Regions from separate parts of the Homo sapiens genome. Here regions 2 and 3 are each linked to region 1. Evidence: promoter capture Hi-C in human tissues and cell types (Jung and others, 2019). All regions are on one chromosome and are shown on one strand. Each heading gives the region's core, a stretch centred on a gene start or on the middle of the fragment in contact. The rest is flanking DNA. Distances are from core to core; before and after follow the strand shown.

What was found. The method cuts DNA at HindIII sites, captures the fragments that hold promoters and counts their contacts. A contact is called where the count stands out against the background at its distance.
Region 2: a contact is called between a fragment that was not itself captured here and the fragment with the promoter of DARS2 in region 1, in 1 of the 25 tissues and cell types used here (spleen).
Region 3: a contact is called between a fragment that was not itself captured here and the fragment with the promoter of DARS2 in region 1, in 1 of the 25 tissues and cell types used here (mesenchymal stem cells).

What each region holds. Positions count from the first base shown.
Region 1 is chr1:173,823,105-173,825,958 of GRCh38, forward strand. DARS2 (aspartyl-tRNA synthetase 2, mitochondrial) reads left to right here and starts at 1,569. Exons shown (of 17, transcript NM_018122.5): 1 at 1,569-2,252. The coding sequence starts at 2,126. It overlaps CENPL (centromere protein L), which reads right to left and starts at 1,779. Exons shown (of 6, transcript NM_001387287.1): 1 at 1,108-1,779; 2 at 822-915. RefSeq lists enhancers at 1,056-1,295, 1,273-1,791, 1,526-2,085, 1,792-2,309. The HindIII fragment of the contact is 1,671 bases long and covers 1,032-2,702 here.
Region 2 is chr1:173,274,336-173,277,404 of GRCh38, forward strand. The region is part of intron 2 of LOC100506023 (a long non-coding RNA gene); the gene reads right to left. It also overlaps a transcript of TNFSF4 not described here. Among named protein-coding and RNA genes, the nearest start is that of TNFSF4, 69 kb to the left of the region's middle. The HindIII fragment of the contact is 6,274 bases long and covers 1-3,069 here.
Region 3 is chr1:173,228,426-173,231,656 of GRCh38, forward strand. It overlaps a transcript of TNFSF4 not described here. Among named protein-coding and RNA genes, the nearest start is that of TNFSF4, 23 kb to the left of the region's middle. The HindIII fragment of the contact is 3,707 bases long and covers 24-3,231 here.

The DNA.
Region 1 (2,854 bases), core at 319-2,818:
TATAGCTACTTATCTTGTTCCCAATCTTAGCCCCTTTCCCTAATCCATCATCAGTCTTTCATTGTCACCACTTTTATCATTACCTTGCTTGAGATCCCATAACAGTTCCCACACATCTATATGAAGTCAAATCAGAATTCCTGTCTGGCTTTCAAGGCACTACTGTATTTGATCTTATTATCTGATCCTATCCAGGTTCATTTTCTACTACTTCAGTTCTTCCCCAAGATCCATCGACATTAGCCTTTCCAAAATCCAACATTCTGCATACACTTCCTCTAAGGTTTTGTATACAACATTGGGGGGTGGGGGGATGGGAGTGAAGAAAGTTCCAGTAGACAATTCTTTAAGAGGTTAAATGACAGCCCTATACCCAAACATGCACCCCCTACTCTAGACAGATGATCACTCTACTGTTCTCCCTGCCTTTTTATTCACCTTATCGCCAATTAAAAACACTTCTCTACTCCCGTTTGTCTCAGTAAATCTTATCCATTTTCCATGTGCCATCTCCTCAGAAGTTTTCCTGAGCTTGGCAGGGCTAGTTCTCTTGACAATTCCACTTGCAGTTGTGGTTCACAGCACACAAGTAAAGCTTTGTTGTTTCTCTTGTGATTAGTCCGTGAAGGGGCTCTGACTTGATCACTTTTCTACATTGCCACCAATACCTAAATCCAACCGCCCCAATGCCAATACTTAGCCAGTGTTAAGCACGTAGTGTTTAAACACACCTCAACACGCAAGTATTGTAAGATAATGACCACACAACAGGGCAAATACAAAGTTAAAGCAGGTCCGGGACCAATACAAAGCATCTTTACCAATAAAATGCCGTGATGACGCTGTCACCCATTCCGGATTCACGAATCATTCTTCAAAAGTCCGGCTCCAAAACTATGTGGAGACTGAAATCCCCTGAAGAAAAAAAAAAAAAACCGCCAAAATGACAGCTAAGACAGAGGCCAGACTAACCCCTGGCCCTCCCAAATTCCCTCTCGCTCCACAAGTGGGTTCACAAGAGACACAAACGCACCCAGGAAGACCTCCGCTCCCTCAGACGCGGGGCGGGCCCTGCGACTTCACTCTGGGAGGGACATTTCCGCTCACCCAGCTCTGCGACCCTCGCTCCTGCGGAGTCAGCTTCTGCTCGCGGAGGGGGAAGGGCAAAAGGACAGTGCGTCCCAACCCGTCCCTCTCCAGCTGAGCCTGTCAGAGACCAGCCCAGCTCTGAAATCAAGCCGTTGAGAAAAGGGAATTCGGCCCTCCGCCGCCTCTTCAGTTTAAAATCGTTTCCCGACTCGCTCTGCGGCCCCACGCAGGAAGCCTCCTTGGCGCCTCGCCGATTCCGTATCAGTGAAGCAACTAAAATTGCCATTTTAACTGAGGGCAAGGCCGAGCCACTTAACCACTATCGTCAACCTTTCCAATCGTGCTCGGTTGCTCCTCAGTTTTCCTACCGGTGCGAAGCTTTCTCTCAAATTTCCGCCCGTAGTAGGCATGGCGGCGGCACCTCACCACTGATTCGTTGAATTCCTTCCCGGTAATCTTGGGCACTAGCGGGCGGAGTTGAAGGGCGCTTGGACCCCAGCGGCGATCTGTGTTTGGGTTCGCGCTCTGGGAGAATTTTGGCTTTGCTCGCCTTCCTCTTTCAGAAGACTCGAAATCGGCCAGCAGGTCTGCGAGATTTGAAACGCGACTGTTACTCCTTGTTTTCCGGTTCTGGCCGCGGGAGCCTCTCGAGAAGCGTGGAAAGAGGAGAAGGGCGTATACCTTGTGACCGCCTCTGGTTGTCTTGGGCTCGCGCCTGGCGCCGCTACGTGGAGTCGCTCTCTCGTCGTCACTTTTGGCTGCCGACTTGTTGAGTAGAAGTGCAGACTGATGCTTTAAGACTCAGGGAGAGGTCTTTCCCTTATCTCCACCCCAGCAAGCACCCCAGAGACCTTGGAGATTTGTCTTGTTTCTAGACACGTGTACTCCAATGTTGTGCGGAGGAGGCCTTAAATATTCGAGAAGAGAGTGGGAACTCCTGGAATTTTAAGGGATTTCTGTGTATTTCCAAAACTGACTTTTAACTACCGGCAGCGTGGGATTTCGTGATTGTTTTTCGCCATCGTGTGGCTCCAACATGTACTTCCCTTCTTGGTTAAGTCAGCTGTACAGGGGTTTATCCAGACCCATCAGAAGGACCACCCAACCGATCTGGGGTTCTCTCTACAGAAGTCTGTTGCAGAGTTCACAGAGGAGAATTCCAGGTGAAAATAGCGAAGAGATCTATCCTATGAACAGTACTTCAGCCTGTTATCTACGGCCGGAGAGCTTTTATTCCATTTTTCATTTTTTCCCCCATTATTATTATTATTATTATTATTATTATTATTATTTGAGACGGAGTCTCGCTCTGCTGCCCAGGCTAGAGTGAAGTGGCGCGATCTCCGCTCACTGCAAGCTCCGCCTCCCGGGTTCACGCCATTCTCCTGCCTCAGCCTCCCGAGTAGCTGGGACTACAGGCGCCCGCGACCACGCCCGGCTAATTTTTCTGTATTTTTGGTAGAGCCGGGGTTTCACTGTGTTAGCCAGGATGGTCTCGATCTCCTGACCTCGTGATCCACCCGCCTCCGCCTCCCATAGTGCTGGGATTACAGGCGTGAGCCACCGCGCCCGGCTTTTCCCCTGTTCTTAACTGGATAGCCTTATGTGTAGAAGCGAAATTCACTCTCATTATATTCATTATACGGCAGTTTTTTTTCCCTGAGTTTTTAGAAAGACCACAAAAAGGTAACCACGTAATATATAGAATACTCTGCTTTTGGTTGATGCCTTAAAAAAATCCTTCTTCGGCCGGGCGCGGTGGCTC
Region 2 (3,069 bases), core at 481-2,980, 550 kb before region 1:
AAACAATGCAGACAACATTTTTGAACTTTTATTCTTATATGTTGCTGTACTTCTATAAAAATGGAGTTCTAAAAGCTGGGTTGCAGAATCAAAATGTATATGGATGTATAATTGCAAAAGATATTGCCAGATTACTTTCCAAGATTGTAGTAACCACGGTAAGCAGAATTCTAAGATGTCCCCCTCTTCCCACTGTGTACACACCCTGCACAATCCCCAAAACTGTGGATGTGATAGATTCCCTGATTCTATTACCTTACTATAGGGACATTATCCAGGTGGATCTTACCTAACCACATGAGCCCTTTAAAAGCAGAGCGTTTTCTCCAGCTGATCCCAGAAAAAGAATTCAGAGATTCAAATGTTACACAGCAATAGAAAATTAATACAGTAAGAATTCACTCTCTTGAAAGCATTGTATGAGGTAACTATATTCATTTTCTCACCAGCACCAAATGTTAAATATGTTTTTAAATTCAGTCAATTTGATAAGTAAAAAAGAGTACCTTATTTTTGATACATGTTTAATAAAGAGTATCTTTATTTTGCATGTCTCACTAAAATCAAGAAACTTTCCATATGTTTTTAGTTAGATTTCCCCTGAGTTAATTGCCTGTTCACATGCAGTACTTTGCTTTGACTATTTTGCTATAGCGTCATTTGTGTAACTCTTGTCAAGGGCTTAAGCAATCTCTAAGCAACAGCATAGGTGCTAAGCTGACTTGCTGCCCTTTCAAAATTTAGTTGGAAAGGAAACAACAAGCCCAAACTGATTTGGACCATTTTTACTCATGGCAGAGCATGCAGCACAAGCTCCGTGTTCTCTATATGTCCCTTTGTCCCTAAGTCCCATCAGGGAAGGGAACGACACAGAACAGGCCTGGGCAGATCCTGCACACACATCCATGTCCCATCCCAGATGAGGAACCCTGAGCTTAGGAAACTTCCCATCTTTTAAGTGGCTGCAAGCAAACCTGCCCAAACTTTGCTCCACAGAGAGAAACTATATTATCTTTTTCAAGAAACAAATCTACTGTCTGACCTGGAGAGAGATACCATCTCTAGCTCCCAAGCCTCTGTGCTCTATACAAACATCCTGGAAAAGATAGTCTGGAACTAAAGCTGTCATAAGATGTGTAAAAACACCAAGGTGAATTGCCTCTGAACAAATCCACCTCTCATTTCCACATTTTTGTGATTACAACACTCTGTTGGCCATTCAAAATAATCTGACCAACAGCAGGTGAGACCACTTCTGTTCAATTTGTAAGCACTTGCAGATCTCTTATTACCAGTGTTTTCTGGGAGAGAGGGAAGTTAATGCCGGCTTTCACACAATTATAATCCCAAAGGAAAACATGGAACCCCTGGGGGAAAAAAAGTTGTTGACAATGTTTAGAGTTTCCCCACCATGGGACACACATCAGTCAGCAGCCCAGGTTGACAGAGGCTTTGGGGTTTAATCCCAGGAATGTAAGAATGGGTTATCTGTAATTTATTAAGATAACATACCACATCATGTATCATAATAACAGCTAACACTATATGACACTATTCTAGTAGCTTAACATATTTAGCCCTTTAAAACTTCCCAATAGTGTGGTTGGTATGAGTGCCATTACATTAAATAAGAAAAACAATAAAAGCATCTTAACTGGTTGCCGTCAAAAAGAAATTCAATCAAATGAAAACCATTGCTTTAGTTAAATGAACTCTTTAAAAATGTGTAATAGATGTTTCCTTAACATGAAAAAGAATATCAATATCGACAACCAACATCATACCTAAGAATGAAAAACTAAAGATAATTATGTTAAACCTACACAAAAGAGAGACAAACAACAGAGAAGACCGGTGACATTGTTTTATGAAACAATTCTCAATACAGATTTACAGAAAGATTAATCCAAATTAAGCCTGTTTCTGTAATGCCACTGCCCAGTGAGTGCAATTTTTCATGAGGAAGACACTCTCTAAGCTATAGGCTTCAGACTTCTCCTAACTATCCTCTTCCTTCTCCTCTCCACCTCTACCACACAGTCTCAGAGTGTACACAGTTGTTCCCAGTTTCCCATGATTGGGAAGGACTCAAACACTATGATGGCAGGTCAACTTTCTGTCATCTTGTCCAAGGGAAAAGCACACTAAGCTGGGAGTGAATGAGCCTGACCTAAACAGCAGCAGAGAGAATGAGTAGAGAAAGGAGCCACTGAGTTGGAGGCCTTAGAGCCACAGGAAAGGAGCTGAAGTCTAGCCCAGTGGCATTGCTGGTTAGCTCCTGTGGCCATGATTAATTTACGAGCTCAACTTTGTGGGAGTTTTCTATTTGACATTTCAAATTTGCAAGAAATTTGACTAAGTACTATTGAGAAGAAAATTAACATTTGCCTGAATTTTAGAAAGGGAGATTAGAACAGGCCACTGGGCTAATCGCAGGTAGGATGATGGGGAGAACTTGCCTGTGTCTGTCCTCTTCAACCCAAGAACCAGGCTCTTCAGCCATCACAGCGGGCTCAACATGGCTGCTTTATTATCTGCAGCTCAATGTACATATGATATCTAACTAACAGTGATGCTGTGATAGAATTTTCATTTCCGAGGGCAGTATTTCTCTTCCCTTCATACAAGTACACAAAATTACACTTTCTAAAAATGAGAAAAGCCTGAGTTCTTCAGAACAAGTCAGCCATAATAATAATGCTTCAGATGTTCCAGGTGTCTGTAAGGCCAGCAGTTAGAGTGAAACCTTCTCTTTGAACCCATTCAACCAGGGTGAAACTCTGCCAGTAGTAAAAAAGAAAGCAGCACGTGGTTTCATGGTATTCACCCTACCACCTTCCATAGTGAGGAGACAGAAACCTGTCTGGGGTGAAGACCATGGGAAAATGTGTAGCTGTTATTATTTGTCATGAAGGTAACTATTCAGGATCTGTTCTGTTCAACCAGCTTCTGATGACTTGGCCAGGAAAATAAAGAAAGAGACCTAAATACAGCATTGAGGGAAAGTGCAGTCTTAAACTTGGGAGTCTGAGAGATTAGAGTTCTGCTGTGACCTGTGTAGCCTTTCTA
Region 3 (3,231 bases), core at 627-3,126, 590 kb before region 1:
ATACGTCACCATCATCAAAGACCAAAGGTAGATAAAACCACAGAGATGGGGACAAAACAGAACAGAAAAGCTGAAAATTCTAAAAATCAGAGCGCCTCTCCCCCCTCCAAAGGAACACAGCTCCTCGCCAGCAATGGAACAAAGCTGGACGGAGAATGACTTTGACAAGTTGAGAGAAGAAGGCTTCAGATGATCAAATTTCTCCGAGCTAAAGGAGGAATTTTGAACCCATCGCAAAGAAGCTTAAAAACCTTGAAAAAAGATTAGATGAATGGCAAACTAGAATAACCAGTGTAGAGAAATCCTTAAATGACCTGATGGAGCTAAAAACCATGGCAAAGAAACTAAGTGACGAATGTGCAAGCTTCAGTAGCTGATTCAATCAACTGGAAGAAAGGGGATCAGTGATTGAAGATCAAATGAATGAAATGAAGCAGGAAGAGAAGTTTAGAGAAAAAAGAGTAAAAAGAAATGAACAAGGACTCCAAGAAATATGGGACTATGTGAAGAGACCAAATCTATGTCTGACTGGTGTACCTGAAAGTGACGGGGAGAATGGAACCAAGTTGGGAAACACTCTGCAGAATATTATCCAGGAGAAATTCCCACACCTAGCAAGGCAGACCAACAATCAAATTCAGGAAATACAGAGAACACCGCAAAGATACTCCTCAAGAAGAGCAACCCTAAGACACATAATTGTCAGATTCACCAAGGTTGAAATGAAGGAAAAAATGTTAAGGGCAGCAAGACAAAGAAAGGTCAAGTTACCCACAAAGGGAAGCCCATCAGACTAACAGCGGATCTCTCAGCAGAAACAATACAAGCCAGAAGAGAGTGGGGGCCAATATTCAACATTCTTAAAGAAAGGAATTTTCAACCCAGAATTTCATATCCAGCCAAACTAAGCTTCATAAGTGAAGGAGAAATAAAATCCTTTACAGACAAGCAAGTGCTGAGAGATTTTGTCAGAACCAGGCCTGCCCGAAAAGAGCTCCTGAAGGAAGCACTAAACATGGAAAGGAACAACCAGTACCAGACACTGCAAAAACATGCCAAATTGTAAAGACCATCGATGCTAGGAAGAAATCACATCAACTAATGAGCAAAATAACCAGCTAACATCATAGTGACAGGATCAAATCCACACATAACAATATTAACCTTAAATGTAAATGGGCTAAATGCTCCAATTAAAAGACACAGACTGGCAAATTGGATAAAGAGTCAAGACCCATCAGTGTGCTGTATTCAGGAGACCCATCTCACATGCAGAGACACACATAGGTTCAAAATAAAGGGATGGAGGAAGATCTACCAAGCAAATGGAAAACAAAAAAAGGCAGGGGTTGCAATCCTAGTCTCTGATACAACAGACTTTAAACCGACAAAGATCAAAAGAGACAAAGAAGGCCATTGCATAATGGTAAAGGGATCAATTCAACAAGAAGAGCTAACTATCTTAAATATATATGCACCCAATACAGGACCACCCAGATTCATAAAGCAAGTCCTTAGAGACCTACAAAGAGACTTAGACTCCCAAACAATAATAATGGGAGACGTTAACACCCCACTGTCAACATTAGACAGGTCAACAAGACAGAAAGTTGACAAGGATATCCACGAATTGAAATCAGCTCTGCACCAAGAAGACCCAATAGACATCTACAGAACTCTCCACCCCAAATCAACAGAATGCACATTCTTCTCAGCACCACACCACACTTATTCCAAAATTGACCACGTAGTTGGAAGTAAAGCACTCCTCAGCAAATGTAAAAGAACAGAAATTATAACAGTCTCTCAGACCACAGTGCAATCAAATTAGAACTCAGGATTAAGAAACTCACTCAAAACAGCTCAACTACATGTAAACTGAACAACCTGCTCCTGAATGACTACTGGGTACATAACAAAATGAAGGCAGAAATAAAGATGTTCTTTGAAACCAATGAGAACAAAGACACAACATACCAGAATCTCTGGGACACATTCAAAGCAGTGTGTAGAGGGAAATTTATAGCACTAAATGCTCACAAGAGAAAGCAGGAAAGATCTAAAATTGACACCCTAACATCACAATTAAAAGAACTAGAGAAGCAAGAGCAAACACATTCAAAAGCTAGCAGAAGACAAGAAATAACTAAGATCAGAGCAGCATTGAAGGAGATAGAGACACAACACCCTTCAAAAAAATCAATGAATCTAGGAGCTGGTTTTTTGAAAAGATCAACAAAATTGACAGACCACTAGCAAGACTAATAAAGAAGAAAAGAGAGAAGAATCAAATAGACACAATAAAAAATGATAAAGGGGACATCACCACCAATCCCACAGAAATACAAACTACCTTCAGAGAATACTATAAAATACCTAAATACTAGACACCTCTACGCAAATAAACTAGAAAATCTAGAAGAAATGGATAAATTCCTGGACACATACACCCTCCAAAGACTAAACCAGGAAGAAGTTGAATCCCTGAATGGACCTATAACAGGCTCTGAAATTGAGGCAATAATCAATAGCCTACCAACCAAAAAAAGCCCAGCACCAGATGGATTCACAGCTGAATTCTACCAGAGGTACAAGGATGAGCTGGTACCATTCCTTCTAAAACTATTCCAGTCAATAGAAAAAGAGGGAATCCTCCCTAACTCACTTTATGAGGCCAGCATCATCCTGATACCAAAGCTTGGCAGAGACACAACAAAAAAAGAGAATTTTAGACCAATATCCCTGATGAACATCGATGCAGAAATCCTCAGTAAATTACTGGCAAACCGAATCCAGCAGCATATCAAAGAGCTTATCCACCATGATCAAGTGGGCTTCACCCCTGGGATGCAAGGCTGGTTCAACATACACAAATCAATAAACATATTCCAGCATATAAACAGAACCAAAGGCAAAAACCACATGATTATCTCAATAGATGCAGAAAAGGCCTTTGACAAAATTCAATAGCCCTTCATGCTAAAAACTCTCAATAAATTAGGTATTGATGGAATGTATCTCAAAATAATAATAGCTATTTATGACAAACCCACAGTCAATATCATACTGAATGGGCAAAAACTGGAAGCATTTCCTTTGAAAAGTGGCACAAGACAGGGATGCCCTCTCTCACCACTCCTATTCAACGTAGTGTTGGAAGTCCTGGCTTGGGCAATAAGGCAGGACAAATAAATAAAAGGAATTTTATTTATTTGGAATATTTATTAGGAA